6 separate regions of the Homo sapiens genome follow, and regions 1, 2, 3, 5 and 6 are each linked to region 4. The links are contacts of gene promoters, found by promoter capture Hi-C in blood cells and fetal thymus (Javierre and others, 2016). All regions are on one chromosome and are shown on one strand. Each heading gives the region's core, a stretch centred on a gene start or on the middle of the fragment in contact. The rest is flanking DNA. Distances are from core to core; before and after follow the strand shown.

Region 1 (4,044 bases), core at 941-3,440, about 11 Mb before region 4:
CTAATCTCATGTGCACTCCTGGGTCATCAGAAATCCACATGATATTTCAACACAGAAGAAGGAGTTGCTGGTGGGAACAGGGAATGAGTGAGGTCGTGGTGCAGAGAAAAAGAAAAAAACATAGATTTAACTAGAAAGTATTCTGTTCGGGAAGATTTTAATCCTATCTGACTTGAAAGAGAATTTGAGGAGTGTTTTTTGTTTGTTTGTTTGTTTTTTATCCTGGTGAGCTTTTGACCTTTTCATAAAATTTACATAATTCAGCATGAAGGGAAACTTCTAGTTGTCAAGAAAGATGTGGGCTCTAGAAATTGACCTTGCAGAAAGGCTAGGAGGTCTGTACCCGCCAGGTACTTGATGCTGCCACTATTAATTCTACAGAGAACACAAGGGGCAGCTCTGTGCTTTTTGCAGATGTGGACCCCTGAAGAGATCCTATGATAGAGCCCAGAGAGCTGCCTGGGTAGGAGGAAACTGACTGACCCTCCCTCCTTTTCCTTGTGACCAGGCCGATGCTCCAGGAGCTGCATAAAAGAGGGAACAGTGGCTTGTCAGAGAGAAAAGACATCATTGAGTCCAAGCTATGCATCCCTCTCCCTGGGAGAGCCCATCTAAGCAGCGTACTGCATCACTAAAAGCTCCATAGCATAATGAGGGTAGCTCTGCTCCAAGGTCGGCACACCAGATTAAAACATTTTATATGGCTCAGGAAATTTAAATGAATTCCACCATCATTTTGAGGAAGGCAAAGGAGTGGGGAAAGGGGAGGCAGAGGGAAGGAATTAATAAGTACTGAGATTTTATTACACACCAACAATGTACTAGATGTTTCTATGCATTTCTTATTTAATCTTAAAACAACTCCATAATCTAGGTAACATAATTCCCATTTTACAGATGAGGAAAATGAGAGTTAGAGGGGATATGTAACTGGACTGTGAGTCACAGAACCAAGAAGTATCAGATTTAGTATTCAAATCCAGGCTCCAAGGCTCAGGTTCTTCTGGTTGTGCCATGCTACCTTGCACTTTCAATTGTAGAACTAAAAATCATAAATAATAAGGTTTCTAAGTAATGATTTTAAATGAGGTATCAGAATTTGTGTCATAAAAAATTGCAAAATGCCTCCTCCACTGCTCTATTGTCTGTGCCATTAGCATCAAATATGTTCTCACTGAAGCAATCAGCTAGGATGGGACTTCTTTTTCCATCAATATCTTGTATAACAAACGGGTTGTATCATCTGGGTGGGGAAGGGAGGGGGTAGCCTGCTTCTAAGTAACTGGTACTGGCTTATCTGGCATGGAAAGTAGAATACATTATGCCTCAAATAAACATGTAGGAAAATGTTGTCAAGAGTCCATGAAAACTGCCAAAGACATTTCTTCTTCATTTAAAAATTATCTTATCAGGTTGGTGACTCCAACCTTGCAAGGGAAGAAGCTATTTTAGACAAATTTACAGCTTTCAATGCTTTCTGCCATATGTGGAACTAATCTGACTCCAAGTCAAGTCTGCAAAACTGTTTTTTTTCCTACATAGTTCGTTTAAAAATCTCACCAAAACTTATAGTGCCATATGTCAAAATCAAGTTAAATTAAATACATTAATGCATTGCAATGTGTATACGAAATAGGGAAAGAACAAAAGAAATATGAAGAAAGTTGAGCATTTCACATTGCTCAGCTCCTCTTAGGTAAAGATCTTGACAAGAAGGGCCTGGGAATGAAGGTTCTGATTAGAAATGCCAGGAAAAAGGTGAACAAAATGAATTCTATTTACTAATTCTCAACAACAGAGAAAGTAAAATGTTCTAGGATAAATTCTTAAGTTCTGCTCTACAAATTGGAAAACAATTCTGAAATAATAAGCAGTCTTATAGGCAGAGAAGGGAAGTAAGACACTGCCTGGCACAGAGACATAGCCACATCTATCTCTGCTGTCACCAAAAAGCCCCTTGCTTATTAAGAAAGATGGGCTCCTTACAGTATCATTTTTTCATAATATTTTCCATTACTTGCCAAATATATCTGTGAAGAGCAAATCATCATATTGGCTTATATTGTACTTGATAGGAATTAAAATCCCTCCAACTTTAAAGTAAATTCCTGTCATGACAAATATCCCCAGTGCTAGACTCTAGCTATGACGCCTTCTATTTTATTTCATCCTGTTACCTTGTGCTGAACATTCTAACAGGTAGCTCTCCCACCCAGTCACTGAAGATCTAGTAGTTAAATGCAAGTCTAACTCCCACTTGCTTGTCACATTTCTTTCATATCTCTACTGATGTAATAAATAAAAACATTGACCCAACCAGGATCAAGATTATAGTACATTTATCTGTCACCAAAGCCTTCTGTCTAGATTTGAGTACAGCTTTTCAAATGGTTTACAGCCCACATTTTTCCTTTACTTGTCCCAAACATATAAGACTTCATCAAAAGTATATGCAACCTTAAAATCTGTATCTGTAAGAGCCTCCTTAGCCTCCAAGTCTATGACTCTACTAGAAAAAAACGATTACATCTTTTATCATCTAATTTGCCAGAATCTTTTCCCATTTTTGAAAATCCATATATTTACCCACTCCAAATGAATTCATATAAAACGTGTATGCTTTTTCTATAGAAAAGTGATATCATGAGAGGAAATTATATACCAGCCATCAGACATTAAAAATGTAGACACATCATCATGGTTTATGGGTATTTATTGTGTGCCAGTCTCTGTATAGAGAATATAATACTTGGTTTGTCCCTTGACTTTATGTTCAGTCTTTAGAAGAATCAGTACTACATTCTCCAGATTCTCCTCTATGGCTACAACTCCTCTCCTAGTCTCCTTCCCAAATTTGTCTTCCTCCATCCCCTCCCACCCATCCGCAGTTGCATCCTCTGCTGCACTCCATCTTCCAGACCATAGTTCTTCCACAGCTTTCATCACTCGCTCAGCTACAGTAAGCTCATCAATATTAGGTATCACTAGCATCATCCTCTTAACCCACATTTCCAACAGACTGTCTGGTGGAGACTCCCATCTTTCAATAGCTATAAGGATTTTCATTTAATATAATCATACCCAGCCATCAAGTTCCAGCACTAATCCCCCTACTACCTAGGGACTGACCTGATCTCCACAATCAGAACATTTAAAATTTTTTCCCTGTGTCTGAGCTTCTATGGAATCTTATATTTCCATTGTAACATTTAACACATAACTCCCTCAAAATCACAATTATGTACATGTCTATAACCTGCATTAGGTAACAGTTGAGAAGAAGGAATGTGAAAAGAGAAGAGCAGCTGAAGTTGCAAGATTTCTTTCATTGCTCCAATTGGACTTCACAGTCTTAGATCCTCCATCTGTAAAATGGAAATAAGATGCCCACTTTATAGAGTCATTGTGAAGCCGATATGGAAGTAGCTTGCTCACAGAAGAGCTCGAAAAGTGGACGCTGCCAGGAGCAGTGTGTTTGCTCTGAATCATTGAGGGCAGAGACGGTATCTCCATGCACTCAGCCAGGACTTTGTTAGAACATTACTAACACACACCTGCATAGCTCCTTACTAGAGGTGCAACATATTTCCATGAAAGGAAAACTGAAATGGCTTTATTTACTGTTAAGGCATCTTTCCAGAGGGGGATTTTGGAATAAGAGAACCATGAGAAGTCGCTGTTCAAATCTTTTGGCTTTTCCTTTTAACTACACCTCTCTGGATCCACCAAAGAGACAATGTAAATAAAATGACACTCCTCTCTGACTACTTACCTACTTCAGTGAAGTCCACTAGCATCTCTGTAGCTCTAGGAGAAACACGAGAAAATGGCAGCTTCTCAAGACGTATTTACCTCACTACAAGATAGTTATTAAAGGAGTAAACATTTTGTATACCAGGGTGCTGGGATTTAATGTCTCTGAGTTCCCACTTATGTTTTCATTCCTTTGGCATCTTGCAGTATTCAGTGGTGGGTTTTACCTAATTATCTAACACTTTAATCAGACATTTTCATTAAAGGCTCAGGATGCTCCATTTGCTGACC
Region 2 (4,008 bases), core at 1,217-3,716, about 12 Mb after region 4:
AACTGCCAATTAAGGGCTGGGGACAAGGAAATTGAAGCTGGAGTTTGTGTTTTAGTAACCAAGTAACGACTCTTAATCCTTACAGATGGGAAAGGGCTCCTTCAAGTATGCCTGGGTCTTGGATAAACTGAAAGCTGAGCGTGAACGTGGTATCACCATTGATATCTCCTTGTGGAAATTTGAGACCAGCAAGTACTATGTGACTATCATTGATGCCCCAGGACACAGAGACTTTATCAAAAACATGATTACAGGGACATCTCAGGTTGGTGGGATTAATAATTCTAGGTTTCTTTATCCCAAAAGGCTTGCTTTGTACACTGGTTTTGTCATTTGGAGAGTTGACAGGGATATGTCTTTGCTTTCTTTAAAGGCTGACTGTGCTGTCCTGATTGTTGCTGCTGGTGTTGGTGAATTTGAAGCTGGTATCTCCAAGAATGGGCAGACCCGAGAGCATGCCCTTCTGGCTTACACACTGGGTGTGAAACAACTAATTGTCGGTGTTAACAAAATGGATTCCACTGAGCCACCCTACAGCCAGAAGAGATATGAGGAAATTGTTAAGGAAGTCAGCACTTACATTAAGAAAATTGGCTACAACCCCGACACAGTAGCATTTGTGCCAATTTCTGGTTGGAATGGTGACAACATGCTGGAGCCAAGTGCTAACGTAAGTGGCTTTCAAGACCATTGTTAAAAAGCTCTGGGAATGGCGATTTCATGCTTACACAAATTGGCATGCTTGTGTTTCAGATGCCTTGGTTCAAGGGATGGAAAGTCACCCGTAAGGATGGCAATGCCAGTGGAACCACGCTGCTTGAGGCTCTGGACTGCATCCTACCACCAACTCGTCCAACTGACAAGCCCTTGCGCCTGCCTCTCCAGGATGTCTACAAAATTGGTGGTAAGTTGGCTGTAAACAAAGTTGAATTTGAGTTGATAGAGTACTGTCTGCCTTCATAGGTATTTAGTATGCTGTAAATATTTTTAGGTATTGGTACTGTTCCTGTTGGCCGAGTGGAGACTGGTGTTCTCAAACCCGGTATGGTGGTCACCTTTGCTCCAGTCAACGTTACAACGGAAGTAAAATCTGTCGAAATGCACCATGAAGCTTTGAGTGAAGCTCTTCCTGGGGACAATGTGGGCTTCAATGTCAAGAATGTGTCTGTCAAGGATGTTCGTCGTGGCAACGTTGCTGGTGACAGCAAAAATGACCCACCAATGGAAGCAGCTGGCTTCACTGCTCAGGTAACAATTTAAAGTAACATTAACTTATTGCAGAGGCTAAAGTCATTTGAGACTTTGGATTTGCACTGAATGCAAATCTTTTTTCCAAGGTGATTATCCTGAACCATCCAGGCCAAATAAGCGCCGGCTATGCCCCTGTATTGGATTGCCACACGGCTCACATTGCATGCAAGTTTGCTGAGCTGAAGGAAAAGATTGATCGCCGTTCTGGTAAAAAGCTGGAAGATGGCCCTAAATTCTTGAAGTCTGGTGATGCTGCCATTGTTGATATGGTTCCTGGCAAGCCCATGTGTGTTGAGAGCTTCTCAGACTATCCACCTTTGGGTAAGGATGACTACTTAAATGTAAAAAAGTTGTGTTAAAGATGAAAAATACAACTGAACAGTACTTTGGGTAATAATTAACTTTTTTTTTAATAGGTCGCTTTGCTGTTCGTGATATGAGACAGACAGTTGCGGTGGGTGTCATCAAAGCAGTGGACAAGAAGGCTGCTGGAGCTGGCAAGGTCACCAAGTCTGCCCAGAAAGCTCAGAAGGCTAAATGAATATTATCCCTAATACCTGCCACCCCACTCTTAATCAGTGGTGGAAGAACGGTCTCAGAACTGTTTGTTTCAATTGGCCATTTAAGTTTAGTAGTAAAAGACTGGTTAATGATAACAATGCATCGTAAAACCTTCAGAAGGAAAGGAGAATGTTTTGTGGACCACTTTGGTTTTCTTTTTTGCGTGTGGCAGTTTTAAGTTATTAGTTTTTAAAATCAGTACTTTTTAATGGAAACAACTTGACCAAAAATTTGTCACAGAATTTTGAGACCCATTAAAAAAGTTAAATGAGAAACCTGTGTGTTCCTTTGGTCAACACCGAGACATTTAGGTGAAAGACATCTAATTCTGGTTTTACGAATCTGGAAACTTCTTGAAAATGTAATTCTTGAGTTAACACTTCTGGGTGGAGAATAGGGTTGTTTTCCCCCCACATAATTGGAAGGGGAAGGAATATCATTTAAAGCTATGGGAGGGTTGCTTTGATTACAACACTGGAGAGAAATGCAGCATGTTGCTGATTGCCTGTCACTAAAACAGGCCAAAAACTGAGTCCTTGTGTTGCATAGAAAGCTTCATGTTGCTAAACCAATGTTAAGTGAATCTTTGGAAACAAAATGTTTCCAAATTACTGGGATGTGCATGTTGAAACGTGGGTTAAAATGACTGGGCAGTGAAAGTTGACTATTTGCCATGACATAAGAAATAAGTGTAGTGGCTAGTGTACACCCTATGAGTGGAAGGGTCCATTTTGAAGTCAGTGGAGTAAGCTTTATGCCAGTTTGATGGTTTCACAAGTTCTATTGAGTGCTATTCAGAATAGGAACAAGGTTCTAATAGAAAAAGATGGCAATTTGAAGTAGCTATAAAATTAGACTAATCTACATTGCTTTTCTCCTGCAGAGTCTAATACCTTTTATGCTTTGATAATTAGCAGTTTGTCTACTTGGTCACTAGGAATGAAACTACATGGTAATAGGCTTAACAGGTGTAATAGCCCACTTACTCCTGAATCTTTAAGCATTTGTGCATTTGAAAAATGCTTTTCGCGATCTTCCTGCTGGGATTACAGGCATGAGCCACTGTGCCTGACCTCCCATATGTAAAAGTGTCTAAAGGTTTTTTTTTGGTTATAAAAGGAAAATTTTTGCTTAAGTTTGAAGGATAGGTAAAATTAAAGGACATGCTTTCTGTTTGTGTGATGGTTTTTAAAAATTTTTTTTAAGATGGAGTTCTTGTTGCCCAGGCTAGAATGCAATGGCAAAATCTCACTGCAATCTCCTCCTCCTGGGTTCAAGCAATTCTCCTACTTCAGCCTCCCAAGTAGCTGGGATTACAGGCATGTGCTAATTTGGTGTTTTTAATAGAGATGAGGTTTTTCCATGTTGGTCAGGCTGGTCTCAAACTCCTGACCTTAGGTGATCGCCTCGGCCTCCTAAAGTGCTGGAATTACAGGCATGAGCCACCATGCCTGGCCAGGACATGTGTTCTTAAGGACATGCTAAGCAGGAGTTAAAGCAGCCCAAGAGATAAGGCCTCTTAAAGTGACTGGCAATGTGTATTGCTCAAGATTCAAAGGTACTTGAATTGGCCATAGACAAGTCTGTAATGAAGTGTTATCGTTTTCCCTCATCTGAGTCTGAATTAGATAAAATGCCTTCCCATCAGCCAGTGCTCTGAGGTATCAAGTCTAAATTGAACTAGAGATTTTTGTCCTTAGTTTCTTTGCTATCTAATGTTTACACAAGTAAATAGTCTAAGATTTGCTGGATGACAGAAAAAACAGGTAAGGCCTTTAATAGATGGCCAATAGATGCCCTGATAATGAAAGTTGACACCTGTAAGATTTACCAGTAGAGAATTCTTGACATGCAAGGAAGCAAGATTTAACTGAAAAATTGTTCCCACTGGAAGCAGGAATGAGTCAGTTTACTTGCATATACTGAGATTGAGATTAACTTCCTGTGAAACCCAGTGTCTTAGACAACTGTGGCTTGAGCACCACCTGCTGGTATTCATTACAAACTTGCTCACTACAATAAATGAATTTTAAGCTTTAAGATGAAGTGGCATTTCTTTTAACAGTTACTATGTTGGAATTGGTTACAAATTTTGGAGTGGATTTCAAAAGTGAGAGCTAACTTCAGTTGATTTCAAGGTAGTGCTTGGCTTTTTTTGTTTAGACAGGGTTTTACTCCTGCCCTGGTTGGAGTGGA
Region 3 (3,644 bases), core at 869-3,368, about 12 Mb after region 4:
GGGAGGCTGAGGCAGGAGAACTGCTTGAACCTGGGAGGTGGAGGTTCCACTGAGCCAAGATCGTGCCACTGCACTCCAGCCTGGGCAACAAGAGCGAAACTCCATAAAAAAAAAAAGAAAGAAAGAGAGAGAGAGAGAGAGACAGAAAGAAAGAGAGAGAGAGAAAGAAAGAAAGAGAGAGAGAGACAGAAAGAAAAAGAAAGAAAGAAAGAAAGAGAAAGAAAGAAAGAAAAGAAAAGAAAAAGGAAGAAATTGCAAGGAGAAAACATAAAGACATGTGAGAGATGTCTACGGTATGTGAGGTCTGAACATGAATGGATCCAGATTCAAACAAACCATGTAAGAAAAAAAAAAAAAAAAGACCAGGAAAGGAGAAAAAAAAAATAGGCTGGGCATGGTGGCTCACGCCTGTAATCCCAACACTTTGGGAGGCCGAGATGGTTGGATCACCGGAGGTCAGGAGTTCAAGACCAGCCTGGCCAACATGGTGAAATCCTATCTCTACTAAAAATACAAAAAATTAGCCGGGCATGGTGGTGGGCGCCTGTAATCCCAGCTACTCCGGAGGCTAAGGCAGGAGAATCGCTTGAACCCAGGAGGTTGCAGTGAACTGAGATTGCACCACTGCACTCCAGCCTGAGCAACAAGAGTGAAACTCTGTCTCAAAATAATAATAATAATAAATAAATAACACCAACAATGATCTTTTATGGTAGTGTGCAATCAGGAAATAAATGCCAGATATAAGGGGGAAAAAATGTGTCATCATACTTTTTTTTAATCTTCTTGGGGCCAGGCACAGTGGTTCACACCTATCATATCAATACTTTGGAAGGTCAAGGCAGGAGGACTGCTTGAGCCCAGCCTGGGCGTCACAGGGAGGCCCTGTCTCTAACAAAAATGTTTTTAAATTAGCAGGGCGTGGTGGCACATGCCTGTGGTCTCAGCTACCAGGGAGGCTGAGGTAGGAGGATCACTTGAGCCCAGGAGGTGGAGCCTACAGGGAGCCGTGATCACACCTCTGCACTCAAGCTTAGGTGACAGAGTAAGATCCTGTCTCAAAATCTTCTTGGGAAGATTATAAAAACAAAAACCAAAGTACCTCCTCTGAACCTAGAATCAATGACACTGCAATAGGAAGAAGTACACCCAATGCTCAGATGTTAGTTTGTAATATCATTCTCCTTATAGAAATGGCAGGGGTAGAGAATACACAAGATGAGCCTGGAACATCTTGTTGTACCAGAAAGTAAGGGAATGCTCAAAAAACACAACAATGGAGGCATGCAAGACACAAGAGCCAACTGAAAGAGCTCTTAGTCACCAAAGCTGGAACAATTTGAGCAACAAAATAAATAACATAGTGTTGGGAGTATAACCCAAAGTATAAAATAATAACCATGACATCATACTAATAAAAATAAATGATTGAATAAGTAAATAAATGTAGGAGAATAAACAAATCTCCCAAACAAAAGAATTCTTCCCCTGAAACTGGTGGAGTATAGATAACTCCCCACCCCTTAAGTGAAGGCTGCACATACTGATTTCCTTCCAAAGAGAAAAGTAAGGCCGGGGGAAAAGAGTTAACTTCACAGTGAAAACACCTGACAAACACAACCTCAGGCATGCAATGAGGCTTACCATCACTACTGATAAACATCAGTGATAAATAAGTTGACAGCACATTCCCTTGACATTACATGATGAGAATGGCCCTTTACCTCTATGACCTTTCCCTCAAAAATCCATAACCCCAGTCTAATTATAAGAAAAACATTCAGGCCGGGGGTGGTGGTTCATGCCTGTAATCCCAGCACTTTGGGAGGCTGAGGCAGGTGGAGGCTGAGGCAGGAGGTCAGGAGATGGAGACCATCCTGGCTAACATGGTGAAACCCCATCTCTACTAAAAATACAAAAAATTAGCCGGGCGTGGTGGCATGCACCTATAGTCCCAGCTACTCGGGACGTTGAGGCAGGAGAATCGCTTGAACCTGGGAGGTGGAGGCTGCAGTGAGCCGAGATCGTGCCACTGCACTCTAGCCTGGACGACAGAGCGTGACCTCGTCTCAAAAAAAAATTCGACAACCCAAATTAAGACACTTTCTACAAAACCTACCAGTACTCTACAAAACTGTCAAGGTCAGCAAAAGCAATGAAAGTCAGGAACTGTCGATCTAGAGGAGCCTAAGGAGACATGTAATGTGGCATCCTGGATGAGATCCTGGGACCGAAAAAGGATATTAGGTAAAAATTAAAGAAACGCAAATTAAGTATGAACTTCAGTTAATAATTATCTATACTGGCTCGTTAGTTATGATATATGCATGATACTAATGTAAGATCTTAATAATAGGTCAAACTAAGCAAAGGGTATGGAGAACTCACTGTACTATCTTTGCAACGTTTATGTAAACCTAAAATTTCTAAAATAAAAAATATTAAAAAAAAGAATTCCTCTGGTTTGAAGTCTTTCAAGTCTGTTGCAACTATATTCCCTGGCCCAAGTTATCTATAACCTTGGTCATCTGGGAGCTTGTTAGCAATACAGAATCTCAGGCACATCCCAGATGTACTGGGCTTCTCAGAGAAACAGCCCCAATTGGGTAGTTTGGGTAATAAAGTTTTGGCTTTCACAATATAGGCTGGCCAACTCGACCCAAAACAGATGATGGTGCACATGCCTGGAGACCCAGGAGGACCTGTGGTGCAGATGAAGTCTGAGGACACTCTGCTGGAGAAGTCTCCCTTGCTTGGGCAAGAGAAGTGGGGGAGTCGGATTTTTTATTCTAGATAGGCCTTCAACTGATTGAAGGAAGCCCACCCAGATTATGGAAGGCAGCCATCTTTACCCAGAGTTCAATGATTTTAGTGTTAACCTCATCCAAAGACAACCAGCAAGTTAACACATAAAATTAACCATCACACCAGATCTGCTGAATCTGAATCTACATTTTAAAAGGATTTGCCAGGTGACTCTGCATAATCCAGTTTGAAAATTGCATTTTTCTACAACCCTTAGAGAGTGTAAAAATCTACATGGTAATTCAGTAACTCAGAAACAAGGCTTGATTTGCTGCTTTAACTTGAGAACTTTTCTAGCATTTACTGATCTGGAGGTAGGGATGCCTACAGAAATCCTCGCCCTCCCTTCTAGGTAAAGGACCCTCCCCTTTGTTCTCACGTGAACCTCACTAAGCTTCTAACCTGGTTTACTGAATTAGTGGCTTGTGGGTCTTCCCTGTCTACACCAAACTCTCCGAGAGCATCTACATCTTATTTTCTACCTCCACAGAGACAGCCTTTATTGGCGGATCCAGATCTGCCCTGCCAAGGCAAGCTGGGTTTTCCTAGTTTCACTTTCAGAGTCCGCAAATGCTAGCACAATCTATCCAAATTCTATCGTGGAGATAAAGCATGCACACATACATCAGAGGATTCCATAGGTCGAACCATATGAAACTACCTATGTTGATTACTTTTACCTATAAAACCAGCAACATCATAGGACTCAACAAATTTCCATTGCTGTTTTTCCGCCTAAAAGCTATTTTAGGACCAGGAGCAGTGGCTCACGCCTGTAATCCCAGCACTTTGGGAGGCCGAGGAGGATTGCTTGAGCCCAGGAGTTCGAAACCAGCTTG
Region 4 (3,922 bases), core at 59-2,558:
CAGTCAATACTTCATCATATAGGTTCCTGTTAGAGAAAAGTGCTTTTCACTACTATCTTTGAATGTGAAGTTTGATCTTCATTCTAATTTTCTAAAAAGCCACCGAATGTATTTGTTCATTCATTCATTCATTTAACCATTACCGACAACCTACTTAATGCTAGGCACTGTTCTAAGAAAAAATAAACAGCAGAGCACGAAATCAGATGTGTTGCTCCCACACTCTAGCAGAATCGGACCGTAATCAAATGCACACATAAACAACTTTAATAAGTAGTGCTTTGAAATATAGAAGTGAAGAACGACCTGAATTTTCAAATACTGAAATGTTCAAATGTCGTGTGCACACACACACACGCAGACATATTCACTCGAACATGCTAATTAATCAAAGCACTGCTTTTGAATTTTGTGTTTGTCGTCTGGATAAAGTATTCAGGGATACTTCTCAAATTAATCTTTCTCTCGTTTTCAATATAACTAATTGAGTACAAAGAAGTTAAAAATTAGCAAAGCATTTCAGCTGTGTGACCTTAGGCAAATTACCTGGCTGTTTTAAGCCTCAGTTTTCTCCTCTGCGAAATGGAGTATTGAACCTCACGTTCGCTGTTTGAGGGAGACTTGTATGGTCACGTTTAGTGTAACCGGATGCCTGGCACGAGGAAGCGTGAGGAGGAATGGATCCCCATGGGGCCTTGATGCCCGCCCTGAGGCCCTGCAGGGCCGCACGCCGGGGCTGTTCTCACGTGGCGCTTTCCGCTTTTTCACCCAAGCGTTTCTGCCAGCCAACTGCCCTTTCCCGGAGTGCTGCGGCCAGGGCTCGCCCGCTCCTCCGGCGGCCTCCGCTGGGGGCCCACTACAGCCCAGCGCCAGCCAGCCAGCCAGCCCAGCTTCTCGAATCGGTCCTAAGCTGAGGCCGCCCTGCGCTGCAAAACTTGTGTCCACTCTCGGACCCAATCTGTCCTGGACGGACTTGGCTCGTGGCAGGCGAAAGCGTCGTTTCCAACTGCAGCTGTTTGAATTCTGGCGCCACACCCGCGCCACGTAGGGCCAAGTCGGCCGCCAGACTCGTAAGAGACGCTTCGCAGTGCGCCTGCGGGCGCGCGCCGGGAAATGGCCGGGCGCGCGGCCGGCCTGCGGCGCGCTCCACAACGCGGAACGGGCCTCAGAAGAGCCACCGCGCGCGCTCCCGCTAATTCGCGACCACACCCCTGTCTACTTCCATGTCCAATAGGTGCGAGAGGGCGGGACGGCCTCGTTCTGACTCCGGGAGGCTATATAAGGAGCTACTGGCTGCGCACTTCGGTCTTTTACGTCGGCCTTCGCGAGCGTCTGGGCGGGTGGTAGGTGAGTGGGTATTGCGGGCTAGTATCCGAGCAAAAGATGGTGGCGCAGGCCGAGTTAAGAGCTTTAATCCTGTGAAGACATCTTAGTGAAGAGTTTAGAGTGCTGAGAGTTGAAAGCTTGCACGTGGGAAACGTGCGGCCGGACTGCCACATGTACTGAGGTTGAGTCGTGACGGCCACAGGCTCCGAGTTTTGGCGTGAGGAACCGCTGATCGGCCACGGGCGCCGAACTTGCTGGCCTCCGGCATGTGCCTGAGCGGCGGCGGAAAAACCACCTTAATTGGGGCGGAGGGTTAGTTTTAACAGCAAAGGGCCTTTACTAAAATGGCGAAGGCCTTCCGTCGGCGTTGTTTTAAAATGGGAAGCCTCGACCCTGTATTGAAACTGAGCTGTTCGAAGGCGGCGTTGTGTGCAATTCGGATTAATGAAGGGGAAGGGTTTTGTGTGGAAAAACGCCTTGGAGTGTGACATTTCTGCGAGAATGCTTAAATACCGATTTCCCGCAGGAACAATGGCGCTGTCTTCAGTGGCACAGTGGAGCAGCTCTGAAGATGCAAAGGTAAGAGCTTAGTTAAGCTTAGTTTCCAAACTAAAGGAGTAAACCTGTTGATTTACAGGAATAGGAACTGTTGCATCGTTTGAAATTTACTTTTTTTTGTTAGATACACGAAAAAACTTCCAGAACATCTGGGAGAATATTTAATGGAAAATCGCTTGGTTAAAACCTGACACTTTTAACAGGTATGTGTTGTTTTAGTACTTTATGATTGAGCATAGCATTTAATCCACACCTAGACTAAATCAAATTTTTTTTGTCAGTGAACAGCGTTCTGAGTGTGGACGAGTAGCCAGTGAAGATAATGAATGTCGAATGTGACTGACTAGCAGCTTCATTTTGAAGTAGGTTGTATGGCTTAAAAGTTCTGTAGTATTTGTACTATAATACTTGCCTTTTAGCATTACCTTGGTTTGTAGTCAGTGTCACAGAAGTGCAGTTTAATGTATTATGTGTACATATACAAGGTCTGATTGGTCTAATCAATGATGAAACCTATCCCGAAGCTGATAACCTGAAGAAAAATAAGTACGGATTCGGCTTCTGAGATTAAGACCAGTAATTCAGAGGTGGAGTAAATTTTGTTGCCGTGATTTTATAACAGTTGTGTTATAAAATCCTGGGTTTTTTTTTTTTCTGCCAACAGTGAGGGTCGCTGTCTGCCCATTGATAGAGGCCAGATTGTCTTGGAAGTTCCAAAGTTGCAACGATTTCTGTAAGTGGAGTTTTTCTGTTTGCTTAGAGATCAGTGAATATTGTGTCCTTGGTCTTATCTGTGATGATCTTATCCCGAACCTGAACTTCTGTTGAAAAAAAAAAACTTTTACGGATCTGGCTTCTGAGATGGACCGTTATAAGGACAATATTTTTTTTTAATACTTTTAATGCTTTTACATATGTTGTAATGTTTGTAGTCTTGTAAGAATCTCGTGTTTTTCCTTTTCTAGGGCTAGTGCCACGAGGTTTACTTGACTGTTGTGTGAAAAGCTGATAAGAAAACCATCCAGAAAAAAGCTCTTCGTTTTACAAACATGAAAATAAAACATGTAATTTTGGATTATGTTCCTTTTTGTTATTACTTTTAAATAGGTCCTGAAATAACATGGGGAGCATTAAATGGAAAATCCACTAACCAGCCTTGTAATCAAATTACTGTGAGTGAATGTTTCGGGTTTGTGCAGGGTACAATGTAAGGGTTTTTGGATCAGTGTAAGAGTGGAGAGACAGGAATTAGAAGTAATTGTTACTAAGCAAATCATGGAATATTTAGTTTTGATGTAACTATAATTTTGAAAGCCTGGATGCTTAAGTTGAGAAATGGGGGAATGAGATACAGAAAATAAGGAGCACAATAGAATAATAATAGCAGTTTATTAAGTATGGTCATGAGGGAAGGTTACTGATAAAACAATCTGGTAAAGACATTCAGGCTTGCTAAAATCTAGGAAGAGGTCATTTGGCAGGATGGGTTACATAATGCTATCTGATACTACCAAATAAAATGAGAGAGAAGCCTTAGGCATGTAACGTTTGGAGATAGAAAATGTACCTTCACTATGAAGGTAGTGTGTGTAAGATGGCAGTTGAAAGCATTGCTTGTGTTTATGTTTATACCCTTGATCTCTGATGCCCTTACCTACCGTACTTAAAACTCTGTTAATCATTGTCTTTCTCCCCCTCCCACAACTTCTGCATAAAATTTTAAGATCTGTGTTTCATTAGTTCAAGAGTGCCTAGAATAGGGCCAGGCACTGTTATACAGTATGTGGTAAAAGACTATTGAGATTCCAGTTTTCAAGGAAGAGTGCCATTACCGTTTTGTTAAAGCTGGCAAACAAGACAAAGTTGTGAAATAGACTGGTTGCTTTGGAGCCCTCTGACCGCTTTTCCTGTAGCTCCTTCTACCTCCCTTGCCTCCCAATAGATTTTTTAATATGTCACATTATCTATCGAAATTAGTACTCCACATTTATATGCACTGGCTTGTGCTAGGCTCTGCCAAGACTCCTGAAATAAAACC
Region 5 (3,647 bases), core at 763-3,262, about 11 Mb before region 4:
TATTTCTAACATAAAAATGACTATCAATATGATGATTATTTGATATGATGGTTTCTAGATATAGGCAGCCTCCAATATATAGAGAGCCAAGACATACAAATGGGTATTGGAGAAGACCCTTTCTGGAGCTTCTAATACTAAAAGTATAAATGTTATTCCAGATTCTGCAACATAGGGAAACATAAGACCTCAAAAGCTTTCCTCTCTAATGCAAATTTATCCCCGTCCAGAAGATCTATGGCAGATAATCTGACTTCTTGGTAACCTTCTTTCAAGTTCAGCAGAGTATTTCTCCACAGCTATACTACGACTGGCATCAGGTACATCTGAAATAAGTCTGGACATATTTCACATTTTAAGATAAGTTAAATCTACTCAAGTCAGCTCAGCTCATTATTTTTATGATATAGAAAAATGTTTTTTTCAAACTTAATGAGCTTTTAGAATACTGCTATATTCAGAATGGAACTGAAACATATTAAAAACTACGTTTCTAAAATGTATTCAGAAACAGTTTTATAAGAAATCATTTGGATTTGAGCTGGATACTTTAAAGAAGTATTTTAAAAATATATTTTTTGTCCTGTGATTAACATATGTTTGCCCATGTAAAATATAATTTCAGCTCCTGAAATACTACATAAAACAGATCTATACTATAAATGGTATTTTAAATGGAATTAGGGAAGCTCATTTTCTTAATATGAGTAAGTAAATCTGCTTGTATTATACATTAATCTCATGCAATTACGGTTTGGCCAATTTTGCAAGTTGGAGTTTCTTAAAGTGATAGATACCTAAAGAGAGATTTGGCTTCTCCCTTGTTTCAGTAAATATAAAAAGAACTAGCATTATTTAGTTTCTCCATTGTGTTAAGATATTTCACTAGATTTCAATGAAGCCTATAAAAAAGACAATATTTCCTGTTTTACAGATACATAATGTGAAGCATAAAAGAGATGAAATGATTTTCCTGATGTCAAATAAGTGGTGCAGACAGTATTCAAATCAAGGTCTTTTAAAAATCTCAAAAGCTTATGTCCTTTCCACTCTACCAAATGAATTTCTATGATTCTAAAAAAACAAACAAAAAAAAACAGAAAAAAGTAAACAAGAAAATAGCCTATGTTTTCAGGCAGCATTGTTATCACACATAAGATATTTGAGTACTGACACAAATACCTAAAGTTAAGAGAATGTCAGATTCCTTGGTTCTTCTTCCTATCATACTGACTGTTTAGAAGAGGATAAATGGTGAAGTCAAAAGATGTTGGCATTACTGACAGTTGGAACAAAAAAATTCTTTGTTGGCAGGATGTTCTGTACATTGTAGGATGTTTAGCAGCATCCTTGACCTTTACTCACAAGAAGCCAGTAGTACCCCCTATAAATTATCTTCATCAATTATTTCTTAAAATTTAACTGGGCAATCAGAAATTTAATTGTCTGGTTACAGTTTCTATATAGCTGGTATCAAAAGCATTAAATAAATCCATGCATTTATTGTACATTTGCTAATTGCATCAAAGCAGCCCTAGAACTTAGTCTATAAATTAGTTTTAGGGTGTCTCTTGGTTTAGGATGATTACAATCATTTTTAAACTGCCTCCTCAGAACCATTAATGTACTAGAAGTACCCCCCAAATATATTGGTACAACATATATCAAGTCAGACACCTGCAATAAATCAAATGATGGTGAGGAAGTCTCATTTTTTTTTCCCCCTTCCATTCAAAGTCTTCGTTTAAAATCCTTTGGTAAAAAGACACATTGTATTATTAGGAAAAAAAATACCTGTGTCAGAAAGTTCCCAGGAAGATCATAAGTTTTACACAGTTCTGATATGGTGACCTGACCACTTTCTTGCAATTTATCATTGACCTCTTCTGCCAACCGATCCAAATAATTCCTAATAGTGAAAACAAGAAAATAATAGAAAAAAGAATTAGGAATGTTTTTTCTGTTTCCTCATTTTATGTTTAATTTCCGTTGAAATGAAGTATGCCCCAAAAGTAATGAAATGTGTGTGTACATGAACACCACTCATCACTCATATTCTAACAAATACTTTTTTCTCATTAGTGTAGCTAAATGTAAGATTAATCAAACAATACATTTTCTTTTTCTTTTTCTTTTTTTTTTTTGCATCAAGGTCTCACTCTGTCACCCAGGCTGGAGTGCAATGGCATGATTATGGCTCACTGTGGCCTTGACCTCCTGGGATCAAGCAATCCTCCTACCTCAGCCTCCTGAGTAGCTGGGACTACAGGTGCGAGCCACCACATTTGGCTAATTTTTTAATTAGCAAACTTAATTAGTGAAATGGGTTTTGCCATGTTGCCCAGGCTGGCATGCTGGGATTTTTTTAAGTGGAAATTTGTATTTGATTTTCATTAACATTTTTGGAACAAATTTGCTTTCAGAGTTAAGATTATACGGGAAGGAACGTAAAAGTTACGTTTTACGTTTTCTTATTAAGAAAAAAATAGAAGTTTATATTATTTCTAAGTATTCCATACATTAACACTGAATTTTTTTTTTTTTTTTTTTAATTTGAGACAGGATCTTTGCTATGTTACGTAGGCTGGTCTCAAATTCCTGGTCAAGCAATCCTCCAGCCTCAGCCTTCTGAGTAGCTGGGATTACAGGTACATGCCACCATATGTGGCTTAAACACTTACTTTTTAAGTGAAATAAACCTTATCATGAAAATCAACACTGTAAGAGTTATAAATGAAATGTCTAACTGGCCATAATTGGCCTAAATTTAAACACTATAAAAAAAAGAAAGAAAATAAACAAAGTGCTCTTAAATTTGTACTTTATTGTACTTACTCATCTATCAGTTGTCCCAACACTAACTGAACATGCTTTTCTGATTTAATAATGTCACCAATTCTATTTTCAATATGAATCAGGTCCACATTAATTACCTGGAAAACAAATACAAAATCTATTAATGATTAGTTTGTATTGTTTCTTAAGCTTGAAATTATATACTTAGAACTATATTTTTAAAGAAATTGCCGGCCAGGCATGGTGGCTCATGCCTGGATTCCAGCACTTTGGGAGGATGAGGCGGGAGGATCCCTTCAGTTCAAGAGTTTGAGACCAGCCTGGGCAACATAGGGAGACTCCCATCTCAAAAAAAAAAAAAGAAAGAAAGAAATTGCTTATTCTTAAATTTTGAATCAATCTGAAATAATACGAAAAGCATTGGCCAAATAAAAAATTAGAGGTGTATTGCTTAGTTATTTTCAGTTCTGAAGAATTAAACTGTCACTTGCTAGTAAGTTTATATAAAGCAGTAAATTACATATTCATATAACAGATAGCATTTTACAGAAAATTCGCTGGCTTCTTGTTTATAGTGTACCTTGGTAATGACATATATATTTGTATATTTTGAAAATAGCTTCTACTTTTAAAAATGTTTCTCTATTACTTTCATATACTAAAAACATATAAACATGAAACTGGTGACTTTTCTCCCAAAATGACATAAACTCTATACTTACATAAAATAACTATGAGTTCATTTGGTAAAAAGTTAAGAATAAGAAAGCCAACTAGGGAAGAGTTGGCCAACTCTTTAATAAGGCCAACTTATTAAATCATTTCAATAAATCCGAATTTATTAAATCATT
Region 6 (3,734 bases), core at 174-2,673, about 14 Mb before region 4:
TTGCTTTTCCTGGGGTATTTTGGTTCTGATGACTATTTTGGCCTTTTTTTGTTGTCCTTGTTGGATTTCTACCAGATATTTGAATATTCTCTTGCATGTTTTAACTCTTAAAGATTAGATTCGTAGACACCATATTAAAGCTATACAAATATTTTTGTTTTATCTGACCTACATGAGTACAAATTAGCAATCATGCTGTTTTCCTCTAAAATGTATTGTGGAAAATTCCAGGTGTTCAGTTTATTTCACCTGATTTTTTTTAATAGATAACATGGCATTGTTGTGTGACTTCTGATACAGTTTATTTTGACTAATGAATTTTGAATTATCTACCTACAATTTTTAGTTTACCACTTATCTCTTACAGAAGCAAGTGATTTCCTACCCCTAGATTTTTAGTAACACCTTAAAAATGTATTGAAAACAAAAATTAAGTTACATGTCATAATCTCAGAAGTAGACATACAGATATACCTGTCAACATTTTTTCTCATTATAAACCAATTTCAGCTCACATCAGAGTTATAATTTCAAAGCCAGACATGATACTGGTTTAAAATGAATGTTATGTTTTTAATGTTTCTTCTCTCCCCAAAAAGCAGCAATAGTAGTAGATTTAACAATACCATAGACTCATGACTATGAAATCGTGGCTATTTGTGTTAACATGTTGTTCCTGTTGTTGATGTGATACAAAGCTCCTGCAAAACAGCTGGCACAGTCCAGTGCACTGGCTTCCCTCACTGGACTCGGTAAGTGTTTTCCATATTTGTGAGAGGGCCTAAAGGGAAAAATCACACATACATTGTCTCTCTGCGTGTTCTATTTTGAAACTGTATTAGTCCTACTCAGTTTATAAAAACCTAGGTCTTAGGGTTATGTCATCCTGTCTAAAAAGGTTTGCCTATTTTTTTGACTAACGCATTCACAGTGAGAAATTTATAAATGTGATGGTTAATTCATAGTTTATTGGGGCAGGTTATATTGGAAGATTTCCTTATTGCTCCAATATATGCATTTTATATATATATAATTATATATGAACACCTATAGTTTGTACTTAATAATTCATAATTTAGCCATGATAGTATCTAAGCTCACTTTCAGAATTATTGCATACATGCCTTAGGGAAGAACCTATCCACTAATGCTTTTAATAACTTACATAGATTGTGTTGCGGCAAGTCAAGTTTTAATATAGAGGAAAGGGTTTATCTTATCATAGTAAAATAGTAGTGATGTGTTCATAATTTACTATTTGCATGGTATATTATCAAGGCTGTAAAAGCTTGAATTTGCCTTTTCCACATCTTCATTTCAAATTAATTTTTGTGAGGACCCAGAGAAGTGGGTAGAACCAAATGCCCATGTGGTTTTGTTATGGTTATTTAGATCATTTCAGGGTGGGGAGTATTTTCAGCACCATAATATTTCTGTACCAGGGAGATTATAGTATTCTAATTTTTTTAGGGAAAAATTGCTTAGCTCTAGGGATTTCTAAACTTTGAACAATAAAAGTTAATTTTAGAAATACTTTCAGGGTCATCATTAAGCTTTAGCGTGGCTTTGTTACTGCCCTGTTAAGTAGTTTTGTTGGTTAGTATGGACAGTACAGCAAACCCATTATCATTCCTTTACAGTGAGAAAAATATGAAATAGTCCAGAAAGAATAAGATATTAAGTAACCTTTGCCTGAAGGTTCTGTGAACTCCTTAAGCGTTTGAATGTATACTTCTCCCCACCCCGAATAAGCGTATTCTTCTGGGAAAAGGCAATGAAAAAAGAAATGAACTTTCTTCTCAGACCTTGAAAAGTTTTTAGTGCATAGTATAATTTTTTTCATATGATAGACTGAGCTTTATGCACACAGGTGGACTGGGTGGTTATGGATCAGGAGACAGTGAAGATGAGAGGAGTGACAGAGGATCTGAGTCATCTGACACTGATGATGAAGAATTACGGCATCGAATCCGGCAAAAACAGGAAGCTTTTTGGAGAAAAGAAAAAGAACAGCAGCTATTACATGATAAACAGATGGAAGGTGTAGTATACCTTTTAGACTTAATTTTGGTCCAGTTTTGTATTTCTTTTTATTTTTTAACTAACCTAAAAATATCAAAGGATAAAATAAAGGCTATATTATAAATAATATGTGATATAACTGAAACTAAAGTCACAATTTTTGTTTGGTTGTTTTAGGAGCCATTTATTGCAGTGGCTATAAGCCAAGCTATTTAGGGTATTTTTATTTCTTGCTAAAAGTCTTGAAATGAAAAAGATGACTTTTGAAATGGGAAAAATATATTTGTAAGACTATTGAAAAGTAATTTGTAGCTAGGATATATAAGGATAATAGAGAACCTAGAAGTTTTTTACTTAAGATACTTTACCTAATACTAGGAATAACAAAAGAGAAAATTTACTTAGAATTTCTTCTTTGAAAAATCTAAGGTAATTAAGAGTTAGCAGCTAAGACTTCTCTATAAACCACTTACTTACCTTTAAAATTTTGCTTTAGTTGGACAAAAGGGAAGTCTTTTCCTACTTGCCTCACACCCACCTCTACATCTTGATACTGTATTTTGCTACACTGTCCAGGAGGGTAACGTAACTAACTACAAGCTATAGAGAACTTGAAATGTGGCTAGGCATGTGCTGTGGGTATAAATTACATGCTAGATTTCAAAAACTTTACTTGAAAAAGAGAACAGAATTTTTTTAAATTTATTATGTGTTGAAATGATAATATTTTTGGTATATTGGGTTATTTTACCTGTTTCTTTTTACTTTTTTAATGTGGTTACTAAAAAATTTTGAATTACTTACATGGCTTGCATCGTAATTCTATTGAAAATGGTGTTCTATTGTTACAGTCTGGTAGCTTGACATTTGGTAGTATGAGAATTTTACATGAACATTTTCTTAGTGTTTTTGTCTTTTTCTGTTTCAGAAGAAAAGCAGCAAACAGAAAGGGTTACAAAAGAGATGAATGAATTTATCCATAAAGAGCAAAATAGTTTATCACTACTAGAAGCAAGAGAAGCAGACGGTGATGTGGTTAATGAAAAGAAGAGAACTCCAAATGAAACCACATCAGTTTTAGAACCAAAAAAAGAGCATAAAGAAAAAGAAAAACAAGGAAGGAGTAGGTCGGGAAGTTCTAGTAGTGGTAGTTCCAGTAGCAATAGCAGAACTAGTAGTACTAGTAGTACTGTCTCTAGCTCTTCATACAGTTCTAGCTCAGGTAGTAGTCGTACTTCTTCTCGGTCTTCTTCTCCTAAAAGGAAAAAGAGACACAGTAGGAGTAGATCTCCAACAATCAAAGCTAGACGTAGCAGGAGTAGAAGCTATTCTCGCAGAATTAAAATAGAGAGCAATAGGGCTAGGGTAAAGATTAGAGATAGAAGGAGATCTAATAGAAATAGCATTGAAAGAGAAAGACGACGAAATCGGAGTCCTTCCCGAGAGAGACGTAGAAGTAGAAGTCGCTCAAGGGATAGACGAACCAATCGTGCCAGTCGCAGTAGGAGTCGAGATAGGCGTAAAATTGATGATCAACGTGGAAATCTTAGTGGGAACAGTCATAAGCATAAAGGTGAGGCTAAAGAACAAGAGAGGAAAAAGGAGAGGAGTCGAAGTATAGATAAAGATAGGAAAAAGAAAGACAAAGAAAGGGAACGTGAACAGGATAAAAGAAAAGAGAAACAAAAAAGGGAAGAAAAAGATTTTAAGTT

Evidence for each region. The method cuts DNA at HindIII sites, captures the fragments that hold promoters and counts their contacts. A CHiCAGO score of 5 or more calls a contact.
Region 1: a contact is called between a fragment that was not itself captured here and the fragment with the promoter of SNHG5 in region 4, in 3 of 17 cell types (non-activated CD4 T cells, total CD4 T cells and naive CD4 T cells). The highest score is 10.0, in non-activated CD4 T cells.
Region 2: a fragment that was not itself captured here is called in contact with the fragment with the promoter of SNHG5 in region 4 in 2 of 17 cell types (fetal thymus and non-activated CD4 T cells); the score reaches 7.8 in fetal thymus.
Region 3: a contact is called between a fragment that was not itself captured here and the fragment with the promoter of SNHG5 in region 4, in 3 of 17 cell types (non-activated CD4 T cells, total CD8 T cells and naive CD4 T cells). The highest score is 12.5, in non-activated CD4 T cells.
Region 5: a fragment that was not itself captured here is called in contact with the fragment with the promoter of SNHG5 in region 4 in 1 of 17 cell types (total CD4 T cells); the score reaches 5.7 in total CD4 T cells.
Region 6: a fragment that was not itself captured here is called in contact with the fragment with the promoter of SNHG5 in region 4 in 1 of 17 cell types (total CD4 T cells); the score reaches 6.0 in total CD4 T cells.

What each region holds. Positions count from the first base shown.
Region 1 is chr6:96,927,282-96,931,325 of GRCh38, reverse strand. All of the region lies in intron 1 of KLHL32 (kelch like family member 32), which reads right to left. Among named protein-coding and RNA genes, the nearest start is that of KLHL32, 4.6 kb to the right of the region's middle. The HindIII fragment of the contact is 4,655 bases long and covers 1-4,044 here.
Region 2 is chr6:73,515,594-73,519,601 of GRCh38, reverse strand. It overlaps EEF1A1 (eukaryotic translation elongation factor 1 alpha 1), which reads left to right. Exons shown (of 8, transcript NM_001402.6): 3 at 86-265; 4 at 374-670; 5 at 754-904; 6 at 992-1,248; 7 at 1,338-1,572; 8 at 1,668-3,852. The coding sequence ends at 1,792. Among named protein-coding and RNA genes, the nearest start is that of EEF1A1, 3.4 kb to the left of the region's middle. RefSeq lists an enhancer at 1-232 and a silencer at 3,982-4,008. The HindIII fragment of the contact is 197 bases long and covers 2,368-2,564 here.
Region 3 is chr6:73,654,705-73,658,348 of GRCh38, reverse strand. No RefSeq gene overlaps it. Among named protein-coding and RNA genes, the nearest start is that of SLC17A5, 2.5 kb to the right of the region's middle. RefSeq lists an enhancer at 3,153-3,242. The HindIII fragment of the contact is 2,167 bases long and covers 1,035-3,201 here.
Region 4 is chr6:85,676,119-85,680,040 of GRCh38, reverse strand. It overlaps SNHG5 (small nucleolar RNA host gene 5), which reads left to right and starts at 1,308. Exons shown (of 6, transcript NR_003038.2): 1 at 1,308-1,347; 2 at 1,853-1,905; 3 at 2,009-2,087; 4 at 2,166-2,246; 5 at 2,549-2,617; 6 at 2,850-3,034. It overlaps SNORD50B (small nucleolar RNA, C/D box 50B), which reads left to right and starts at 2,382; the gene lies at 2,382-2,452. It overlaps SNORD50A (small nucleolar RNA, C/D box 50A), which reads left to right and starts at 2,673; the gene lies at 2,673-2,747. RefSeq lists enhancers at 1,338-1,497, 1,668-1,727. The HindIII fragment of the contact is 13,479 bases long and covers 1-1,465 here.
Region 5 is chr6:96,524,583-96,528,229 of GRCh38, reverse strand. It overlaps UFL1 (UFM1 specific ligase 1), which reads right to left. Exons shown (of 19, transcript NM_015323.5): 4 at 2,836-2,933; 5 at 1,795-1,909. Among named protein-coding and RNA genes, the nearest start is that of UFL1, 4.6 kb to the right of the region's middle. The HindIII fragment of the contact is 1,951 bases long and covers 1,037-2,987 here.
Region 6 is chr6:99,400,847-99,404,580 of GRCh38, reverse strand. It overlaps PNISR (PNN interacting serine and arginine rich protein), which reads left to right. Exons shown (of 12, transcript NM_032870.4): 10 at 699-752; 11 at 1,871-2,041; 12 at 2,951-3,734. Among named protein-coding and RNA genes, the nearest start is that of COQ3, 8.5 kb to the right of the region's middle. RefSeq lists an enhancer at 1,387-2,586. The HindIII fragment of the contact is 265 bases long and covers 1,291-1,555 here.